2 separate regions of the Homo sapiens genome follow, and region 2 is linked to region 1. Evidence: promoter capture Hi-C in 16 types of primary human blood cells and fetal thymus (Javierre and others, 2016). All regions are on one chromosome and are shown on one strand. The core of a region is centred on a gene start or on the middle of the fragment in contact, and the rest is flanking DNA. Distances in the headings are between cores, read along the strand shown. Region 1 holds the start of MACROD1 (mono-ADP ribosylhydrolase 1). Region 2 overlaps MARK2 (microtubule affinity regulating kinase 2).

What was found. Contacts are between HindIII fragments. The CHiCAGO score rates a contact against its expected background, and 5 or more counts as called.
Region 2: a contact is called between a fragment that was not itself captured here and the fragment with the promoter of MACROD1 in region 1, in 1 of 17 cell types (naive B cells). The highest score is 5.5, in naive B cells.

What each region holds. Positions count from the first base shown.
Region 1 is chr11:64,163,601-64,168,662 of GRCh38, forward strand. MACROD1 (mono-ADP ribosylhydrolase 1) reads right to left here and starts at 2,513. Exons shown (of 11, transcript NM_014067.4): 1 at 2,097-2,513. The coding sequence starts at 2,394. It overlaps LOC105369339 (a long non-coding RNA gene), which reads left to right and starts at 2,638. Exons shown (of 3, transcript XR_950187.3): 1 at 2,638-2,989. RefSeq lists an enhancer at 2,032-2,532 and silencers at 2,070-2,169, 2,300-2,379, 2,640-2,899. The HindIII fragment of the contact is 18,296 bases long and covers 123-5,062 here.
Region 2 is chr11:63,840,526-63,845,587 of GRCh38, forward strand. The region is part of intron 1 of MARK2 (microtubule affinity regulating kinase 2); the gene reads left to right. Among named protein-coding and RNA genes, the nearest start is that of MARK2, 3.9 kb to the left of the region's middle. The HindIII fragment of the contact is 539 bases long and covers 2,141-2,679 here.

The DNA of each region.
Region 1 (5,062 bases), core at 1,263-3,762:
GAGGCCTCTCACCAAATGCCATTTTATGGGAGGGAGCTGTTTAGGAAGCCCATCCTCCAGCCCTAACCAAGTCCCACCCGGCCTCAGAGGGAGGGAGACCCTGAGCTAGAACCACCCAGCTAAGCTTCTCTCAGTTTCCTGACCCTCAAGAGATGGAGAGAATGCAGGTTTGCTGTTTTACGCCACTAAGGTTCGGGGTGTTTTGTTACACAGAAATAGATAACTATTGGGGGATCTCCACATCTCACCCCCGAAAGCGTCCCTCTAACTGTGGCTTCAGTAGCAGGCAGAGCCCCAGACCAGCCCCACTCCTTGGGCCTGGCCCACTGTCACTCAATAACGGGTCTGGAATATCATTACCCAGCTGGATGCCTCTTCTCAGGCCACCACCCCTGAGACGCCTCCTCTGATCTCCCCAGCTCAGGTGGCCCCATCTGCTATGGTGTCTTCACAGCACTGAGGTTACCGGGCCTTGTCTCAGCTGCTAGAACACATTCTTTACAATAGATGCTTTGTAATCCTCACACCAGATTACAAGCTCCATGAGGGCAGGGCCCTTGCCTATCTGACACATGTCTGAGTCCCCAGCCTGACCACCTAGGGGGCGTTCAATAAAAGTTTGCTGCATGATTGGAAATCCCACCTCGAAGCAAAAGGGAGACCCCAGTGACAACACAGCAGCCCAGGAACCCCAGCCCCATCACAAGGTCCGGTTGCTTTCCTGGCACCAAGGAGTGGGGCTGTGGGGGCTGGATCCTAAAAACAGCGGCAGCCCTCGAGCAGGTGCCTGGGCACCTTGTCTCCGTAGCTCTTTCCCACCCTCCTGGGTTGTTGTCCTCTGAGAGAGTGCTCAGGGGAGCAGGGGTCTCTGTGGGGACAGTGGCTCCCCCTCCAGGGGTCTCTGCCAGCCCCAAACTCCTCCTGCTGTTCTGGGGCAAGGGCCAAGTGCCTGACAAGTTCTCCATCTGCTCACGGGCTAAAGTCGGTGCTTTCTGCCGTCACTTTTAGATCCTGGCGCAGGCCACACAATTCATGTCAGGAGTAAATCATTTTGATTTCCACCTCTGGTCCCGAGAAAGCCATCTTCTCTTCACCCCTAACACCGCAGGACCCCCCCATCCTGCCTGCCCAGCCCAGAGGCCACACCTACTCCACCACGGAGGCCCAGCCAATTAGCCACTTCCCTGCACTTTTGAAAGGGGATCCAGCCGGGAAGAGTCACAGGATCCCAGGAGGCAGGCCCTGAAAGGCAGGGGCAGCTGGGTGCCCGGCAGGGCTATTTGGGGCTCAGTAGCGGCAGCTTGGGTTCTCTCTCTCCCCAGGCCCCAGACTCATGCCCCCTCCAGGAGCAAGAGGAAGTGGTGTGATTCTTGAAGGGTGTCATCAGTTGTCACAGGGACAAGACCCCACCTCTGCCCTGCTCCTCTAACCTCTGTTCCTGGCATGAGCAAACTGCTCACAAGTGGCCAGAGGCCAGCGAGAAGGGGAAAAGGGCGCCAGACCACGTGCCCAGGAAGGCATCAGAGTGCGGGCTTGGGGTGGGGTGGAGGCAGGACAGGCCAGCCCAGGAAGGTCACTCTGTGAGGTTACGTGCCCCACCAGGTGGGACGCCAGCCCCGGAGCTGTTCCCTCAGCCCCATTCCCGAACACTTAAGAACCACACTGTGCAAAGTTTGGAGAGTCCGGGATCATAACCTCCACTTTGCCACCAGCTCCGAGTGACCTTGGGGAAGCCAGCTGTGGCACTCGGCCTCAGTTTCCCTCCTGCACAGGGAAGGAAGTTGGTAGGTCCTGCACAATCTCTGGGGTGCCCTGTGACCCATTCCAATGGGGTAAGGAAGGCCGCCTTCCTCACGCTGCCCCCTGCGTGGACACTTGGACCTGGTCTGGAGTGAATTGTTCTGTGGGGCTGGGAACACGCGCGGGGGCGGGGGGGGCTGTCAATGGGGAGGAGGGGTCCGTTCCAGGGCAGATGGGGCCTCAACTTCCCCAGGTCTCTCGGGTGGAAGGGGCTGCTCGCTCGTTGGGGGCCGCCCAGCCGGGAAGCTCCACGTGAGGCCGCCCTCTCCCTCGCGCCCCCTCGTGCTTACACTTACATTTCGCCTCCTTCCAGTCGGTGGAGGTGCTCAGGTCCACCTTCGCCGCCATGGCCAGGGGGGCCCAAGTGCGCACCCCGGCTGTCCGCCCCACCGCCGCCGCCCCCCACGCCCCAACTCCCGCCGAGGTCCGCGCACGGCGGCCGAACACGCCCAGGAACGCCGGGGGACCGCACGTGCTGCTGCGGGTCCTCGTGGCACCCGCCAAGTGTCCGGGCCGGGGGCGCGGGGGGACGAGCAGCTGCCCCGCCGCGCGCAGCTGTGCCAGGCGGCCGGACAGTCGGCTCTGTAGAGACATGAGCGGGCGGCGCGGGACGGCTCTCCGCCCACTTGGACTCTATTTACGGCGCTCGGGAGTGTCTCTCCCTTATTTACTCTGGGACCGGGTGGCGACTGCCAGCCAGCGGCGACCTGCTCGGAGCCAGCGGGAGGCGCGGCCAGAAAACCCGGGAGCGCCGCTGGGCACCCTGGAACTTGTAGTCCGGGCCGCCGGATGGGCCCACGCACTCGTATACACACGTGCGCGCCCGCCCGGGCTCCCAGTGTCGCGGATGGAGCCCCGCCTGAGCCCTTCGACTTCTCCCGTGGCCGCCAGGCGCCTCCCCTCCGCGAGACCTCGGCCGCCTCTAACTTTCTGGTTGGCTGAGCGTCGGCTTCCCCGGCACGGGCTGAAGCCCCCGGGCCTTCCACGCAGCCCCGGGCCCCTCTGCCGCTCGGCCCCGCGGCGGAGCAGGCGCGCCGGCCGCTGCGTATCGAGCTGGGAGAGCCTGGCGCGGCTTCCGCAGTGCCGAGCGTTTTGCAGCCTGGGAGACCCGGGCTTCTCTCCCCGCGGGTCAGCAGGGCACCGCCTCCACACCCCAGCCTGCCCTCCTAGGGACAGGTGCGACGAACGGGTAAATCCGGTTTGGGGACTTCTCCCCAGAGCCTCTGCCTTCTAACAGCCCCGGGGCCAAGGCTCAGCTGGAGCAGAATCTAGGACAGCTGGGGAGGAGAGTCGAGGGTGGAAATAGTGGAATTTGGAGGCAGGAAACTTAGGCTTCAAGTGGCGTTCAAGGGTGGAAGGATTGGGGTGATGTTTTTGTGTGTGTCTGTGTGTTTTTTTTTTTTTTTCTTTTCTTTTTTAAACAAAAACCGGCCGGGCGCGGTGGCTCACGCCTGTAATCCCAGCACTTTGGTAGGCCGAGTTGGGTGGATCACGAGGTCAGGAGTTCGAGGCCTGCCTGGCCAACATGGCGAAACCCCGTCTCTACTAAAAATACAAAAATTATGCAGGCGTGGTGGTGCATGCCTGTTAATTACAGCTACTCGGGAGGCTGAGGCAGGAGAATCACTTGAACCCGGAAGGCGGAGGTTGCGGTGAGCCGAGATCGTGCCATTGCACTCCAGCCTGGGTGACAGAACGAGACTCTGTCTCAAAGAAAACAAAACAAAAAACACGAGGATGGATTTTTAAGTACTTTTATATATTTTTATGTACTATTAATATTACTTTATGATAAATATAATGAATACAGGCCGGGCCATTATAATAATATAATGAATGTAATAATGAATAATGAATAAGTGCTCACACCTGTAATCCCAGCACTTTGGGAGGCTGAGGCAAGAGGATTATTAGAGGCCAGGAGTTCAAGACCAGCCTGGGCAATATAGTGAGACCCCCTCATCTCTACCCGCCCCCACACAAAAAAATTACCCTGGTATGGTGGTAGACACTCACCTCTAGTCCCAGCTACTCCAGAGGCTGAGGCAGGCAAACACTTGAGCCCAAGGGTTCAAGGCTACAGAGAGCCATGATGGCACCACTGCACTACAGCCTGGACGACACAGTGAGACCCTATCTCAAAAGTAATAATAATAATGAATATATTTTAATACGAGGGAGGAACGAGCCAGGGTTTCAGAGAAGGTTCTAGTACTAGTGTTGCTGCCCTAGGGTACCCTAGCCCCTTAAGACTCAAACTTCTTGAGCTGTCAGCTAGGAATAAGAGAGTCTGGCTGGTTGCAAACCTGCTCCTGTGCTCCAGGCCTCTGACTCTGAGTGTGGCAATAACCATGGATGGCCGTACGAGGATCCCTGACCTGCCATGGATGCAGATGGAACCACTGGGATGGTGACACGGGCTCACCCTTGGACTCCAGACATTAAATCTGCCCAAGAGAGGATCAGCATAGACTTGCCAGCAGCAGGGTAGGCAGTCATCAGTACTGGGAGTGAGGGCAAAGGGGAGCCAGAGGCCAGGAAGGAAGAGCCCACGGCCCCCAGCATTCCAGGACCACCAGCAAGGCCTGCACCCTCTCCTGAAAACATCAGCAAGGCACGGTTCAGGATGTAGGGGTCAGGCTCCAGGTCACCTCACCAGTTGTGGCCCCTCCAGTAACTCAGAGTAAAGGAAGGACCTTGCTGACTGCAACCAGGACAGCCAACACCTACATGCACGAAGTCCCAGCTGTACTGAGCTAAGCCCTCTATGTCCATTCCCACTACCTCCATTAGCCCGTTATATCCTCAGCTCTCACCCCCTCCAGGCAGAGAGATGATTGGCCCAAGGTCAGGTCAGGATCCCAGCCCCGACTTGGGTCCAGGTCTGTTTGGTTCCCATCTGCAGTCTGGAAAATGGTTATGCAGGTGTCACTGATTGGTGAAATGAGGCATGTGGGTGATGCAGTATATTACTTCTCCATTGCTGCTGTACCATTACCGCAAATTCACTGGCTTCAACGACACATTTAGTATCTTAAAGTTCTGTAGGACAGAAGTCTGATGTGGGCATCACTGGGTTAAAATCAAGGGGAACACGAGGCCATGTTCCTTTCTGGAAGCCCTAGCAGACAGCCTGTATCATTGCCTTTTCTGATTCCCAGAGACCACTCACATTCCTTGGCTTGAGACCTGTTCCTCCATGTTCAAAGCCAGCGCGGTTGCATCTGAGCATTCTCCTGTAGTGGCATTTCCCTCTGATACT
Region 2 (5,062 bases), core at 1,160-3,659, 320 kb before region 1:
CTTTCTGTCTTCGTACGCTGGAACACAAACCATGATGACTTTCTGTGTCTTCACTCCCGTGCCTGGCACTTAGAGTATTTTCTTTCTTGCTTGTTGCCTTCCTGTTTCTCCACCCTCACCCCATCTTCCTTACTGTGCCTTTTAATCAGCGTTGCCTTTCATCTCCGCATTAGTCTCCTGCCTTCTTCATGTCCTGTGTATCCCCACACCGTGCTTGGATCCATTCTGTTCCTATTGGCTAAGTCTCTGTAATGCCCAGGAAGTCCAGGTGTTTTGCATGCTAGTTTCTTGAGCTACACCTCAGCCTCACGACTCTACACGGTCCCCCTCATCCTGGCAGTCACTGCTATGTTTTTCACCCAAGTCTTAGCCTTTCTGTGTCATCTCACTTTTGATCCCAGAGACGTCCACTTTCCACACCTCCCCTTTCTTTCACCATCTCTAGCGTCCTTTGCTGACTGCTCTGTGCAGAGTCCCCTGCCTGTCATACCTTTCTTGGTGGAGAACTTTACTAGGCCAAAAAAACTTGACTTGAAAAAGAAGTGCTTCTGCCCCGGGGCTGCTGTGCTTTTTGCCTTCTTTCCCCTCCTTCCATCCTTTATGTTTCCCTCTTACTCCCTTCTTTCTTTGTAGCCCGGTAGAGCAGTTGTTGTATTCTCTTGCATGTGAACATTCTTCTTTGAAAAATCTTACCTCCTTTCTTTTACTGTGTTTTTCTATTTTGTTACCCCCTGGCCCTCTGTCACCTGGGCAGTTAGGAACTAAAGAGAAGTTCTAGGCAGAGTTTTTCTCTGCAGGGTTGACCCTTTTATTACTTGTGGATTATTTGCTTCTGGGGGTGAAATAGGGGTTGAGAGGGAGGGATGGTTGATTTCCATTTCATCACTGGGTTTGGCAGCTGGTTCTGCATGGGACAGGGGTCTTTGGAGACAGAGGAGCATGTTCTGTGTCTCGCAGTCTTTCTCTCCCTTGCCTACCGGCTGTTTCTCTCTCCTTACTGGGAATTGCTTTCTCTGGGCCCTCTTGAGGTTGCTTATTCCACCCATTTTCCTCTCACAACCTTTGTTTTAGCAGGTAAACCCTGCTTAACCAGAGAACTTTCCCAGACTGTTGATCGTGAGCTGGTAGGAGGAGGCCAAGTGACTGACTGGCACCCTCAGGCATTTGGGGAGTGGCGATGGAGTGCCTACTCTCAGTGAGGCTGGTGGGGGGCATTGTGTTCAGCAGAGCAGAGTAACAGACTGCCTCAGTGTGGTTTCTTTGTGCTGCTTACTACATGTAAATGTATTATTGCCATGGTATTTTTCCTGTGATGTGTGTGTTGATTTCCTTTCTTCCTTACATGCCTAGCATACTGCTGAGCATATAGTAGGAATTCCACCGTAGTGTGCATCCACTGATTCCATGATAGCAGCAATCAGTGACCATTTGGGAATGTAAGTAAGCTCTTTGCTCTTTGATAACTTTGCCCAGAGCAGTAGCTGCATACATTGTCATCCTGTTAGGATTATTAATTACCCATCCTATTTCTACTCTTTATGGACTTAGATTCTCCTTAGCCCCTTCATACCTTCTACTGTTGTTCTCAGGGTAGCCAGTCACTGTATCGATTTAATATTAAGTCTCATTCCAGTAAAAGCAGGGACTTTGGAAAACCTTGGATGCACCTATTCCAGACAGATTCCTGTATTCTTTTTTTTTTTTTTTTTTGAGATAGAGTCTCGTTCTGTCGCCAGGCTGGAGTGCAGTGGCACAATCTTGGCTCACTGCAATCTCCGCCTCCTGGGTTCAAGCGATTCCCCTGCCTCAGCCTCCTGAGTAGCTGGGACTACAGGCACACACCGCCACGCCCGGCTAATTTTTTGGATTTTAGTAGAGACAGCGTTTCACCATGTTGTCCAGGATGGTCTCAGTCTCCTGTCCTCGTGATCCGGCCTCCCAAAGTGCTGGGATTACAGGTGTGAGCCACTGCGCCGGGCCTGATTCCTGTATTCTTTAAAACGGGAAAAAAGACAAGCAGCAGCTCCTCAGGTCACAAGGCCAGGTATATCAAACACTGGCCTCCGAGAATAGATCATGCCACCAAGTGAAAGAAACCTCTTCTTGGTCCTGTTGTGATTTTAGATAAAGTAGTCATGGAAGCTTGGTCATTACTATAGTCTTAATGTTATTTTTTTTAAAAAGGGGATTTAGTTGGGCTGATTTCCTCCCCTAAAGGTCCTCTGTCACCTTATTTAAATTTAAAACTGGTTTTACCAGAAAATAGGTAAACAAACACCACTGGTTGTCTCCAGTCTCTTTTCTTGCTCTTCCTCTCCCTCTTCTTTAAAAATGTGGCTGATGAGAACCTGTTTCCAGGAGCCCTTTAATCACTCTGAAACACACAGACACTGAAAATGTTGAAGCATAAAAATAAACCTTGCGTTACAGGGAGATTGCCTGTGTGCTGTCCACTTCGCTTATAACAGTGAAAGTAGGAGATTAAAAAAAAAAAAAAGTTAAGCCCTGTCTTTAAGATGGTTTTTGTGACACCTGATTCCAGATGTGCTTTTTCACAGCCATAGACTTCCTGCTTTTGCAGAAGGAGGGTTCTAATCTGGGGCTCGTAGCTTGGGGGATTCTTAGTTTGTGAGCTGAGCTTTTTGTTCACTTCTTTTCCAAATGACTCTGCTGGCCTGAAGCTTGGCAGTTGTGAAAGCAATCAGCAAGATGACTGTTTGTCTTCCAGCCAGCAGCAGCAGTCACAGGCAAGCCTGGAGAAAGGTCCAGCTTCCAGAGTTCACCTGCTAGAGTTTTCCATAACACCTGGGGGAGAGGCTACTCCATCTGGGACCTGCCCCACCTCTGGGCCTCAGAAACTATGAGAGAGGGATTGAGAGAAAACTTGCCCCACTTCTGCTGCAGTGGGAAGGGAGGGGGCTGCTGTCAGGCTTCTAGGCAGTGAGCGGCATTGTTTATTCTCTCAGTTCTAGGAAGGGGAGTTTAGAAGTACTGGTGAAGAAAACAAAGTTACAAGATCCTATAAGGAACAGCTGAACTACTCCAAACACTCTCACTGGACCCCCATTGTTGATTCTGGATAAAAATATATATATATATAAAACTCTTTTTTTTTTTGACACAGAGTCTTGCTCTGTCGCCCAGGCTGGAGTGTAGCGATGCGATCTCGGCTCACTGCAACCTCCGCCTCCCGGGTCAAGCGATTCTCCTGCCTCAGCCTCCTGGGAGTAGCTGGGACTACAGGCGCCCACCACCATGCTGGCTAATTTTTGTATTTTTAGTAGAGACGGGGTTTTGCCATATTGGCCAAGCTGGTCTCGATCTCCTGACCTCAGGTGATCTGCTGGATAAATATTTTTTTTTTGCTTTTGGTGTAACTTAGGTAGATTGGATCGGCTAGCTAGCATCTCAGTCCACACTCTGAGCTGTGCAGCAGTGTGCCCTGGTGCTAATTCTCACTCTGTCCTTTGATTCTGGCCAGGGGGTCCTTGGTGGTGCTGCCTTCTGGTCAGGAATGTGGGTGAATGTCAGACCAAATAGTGTCACTTTCGGCTTGGCCCTAGAGATCAGGAAGGAAGTGTTGTTAGAGCAAGGGCTTTGGGAGTCCTTGGAGTTCGTAACCTTTGAATCTGAAAAGTAACTGTACCTAGTAAATTAGAATAATTTCTCTCTGGTCAGGCACCATGGCTCATGCCTGTAGTCCTAGCACTTTGGGAAGCCAAGGCAGGAGGATTGCTTGAGGCCAGGAGTTCAAGACCAGCCTGATCAATAAAGTGAGACTCCATCTCTACAAAAAAATTTTTTTAAATTTAGCTGGGCATGGTGGCACATGCCTGTGGTTGCAGCTACACAGAAGGCTGAGGCAGGAGGATGGCTTGAGCTGGGGAGGTCGAGACTGCATTGAGCTGTGTTTGTGCCACTGCACTTCAGCCTGGGTGACAGAGCAAGACACTATCTCAGAAAAAAAAAATTACTTTTCTCCAATTTATGGACTTCGGAAAGTAGCTAAACAGATGGATATAAGACAGTTGTTGAAACTCGGCCTGCTGCAGATTAAAATAAAGTTTGCACAAGGATAACTTAATCTTTCAGACCAACCAAAGTTTGGGCTGGAGATTTTTCTCAGCATAAATGTCCTAAGCAGAGTTGGTGCCTATGAGGTAGGAAAAGATTGAGACTTTGCTTGCCTAAGAGGTTTGCAGGGTTCGAGCTTTTGGGAGTCAGAACTTCTCAGACTAGATTGTTTCCCCTTTGGACAGAACAACCCAATTCTCAGTGGGCATTTGATCAGGACTAACCCAGGCCTTCATGAACTCTTTCCCATTGAGCACTTAGCCACCTGGCTGGCATTTCTCTTCTCCCAGGAGCTTCCATGAGGTTCCTACTTATGTATTATGTCGACTTGAATGAATATTTTATGTCTAGAGTGCAGCCAAGCCTCAGACTTTGTGGCCCATTATCGACAAATGGGGTAGGGGGTGGGCGCCACCTTTGGCCCCGTGATAGCTTCTCTGCTAAATGGACTCCCCCCAGCAGCACTTTGAAGCCCATTAATGGATTGGAATGAAGTAACCTCAGCAGATGGAAAGGGTGAGGAGGGTGGTCATCTTCCTTCCCTGAGACTGCCTGATGAGGCTTTCCTACAGTAACCAGGACAAGCCCCTATTCCCTCTGCTTGGTTAAGCTGTGGACTGGAGCTACTAGGCCTCTGCTTTGAGAGGAAGTATAGAAAGGATTTGATTCTCTTTTAGCCATGGTGGGGCCGCCAGTTTCCCCACTTTCCCATCAAAGCAAAAATTGAGAAGGATGTGGAAAGGGTGGGTGGAGTTTAAAGCTGGCCCTTCCTCCTTCAGTGGAAGTTCAGCAAAATGACAAACCAGATAGGTGGCTAAATTTCCTTCTCTTGATGGGAGATTCCAGTATTTGTACGTTTTGTGCTTGTAGCTTGGATTCTCCAGGCCTCCTCCCAGCTTTCATCAAACATGAGTGAGTCACTGAAGTGTTGTCTATGCATTTTCTCCCTTCTGTCTCTGCAAAGGGAAGAGTAAGCCTTTACAAACCT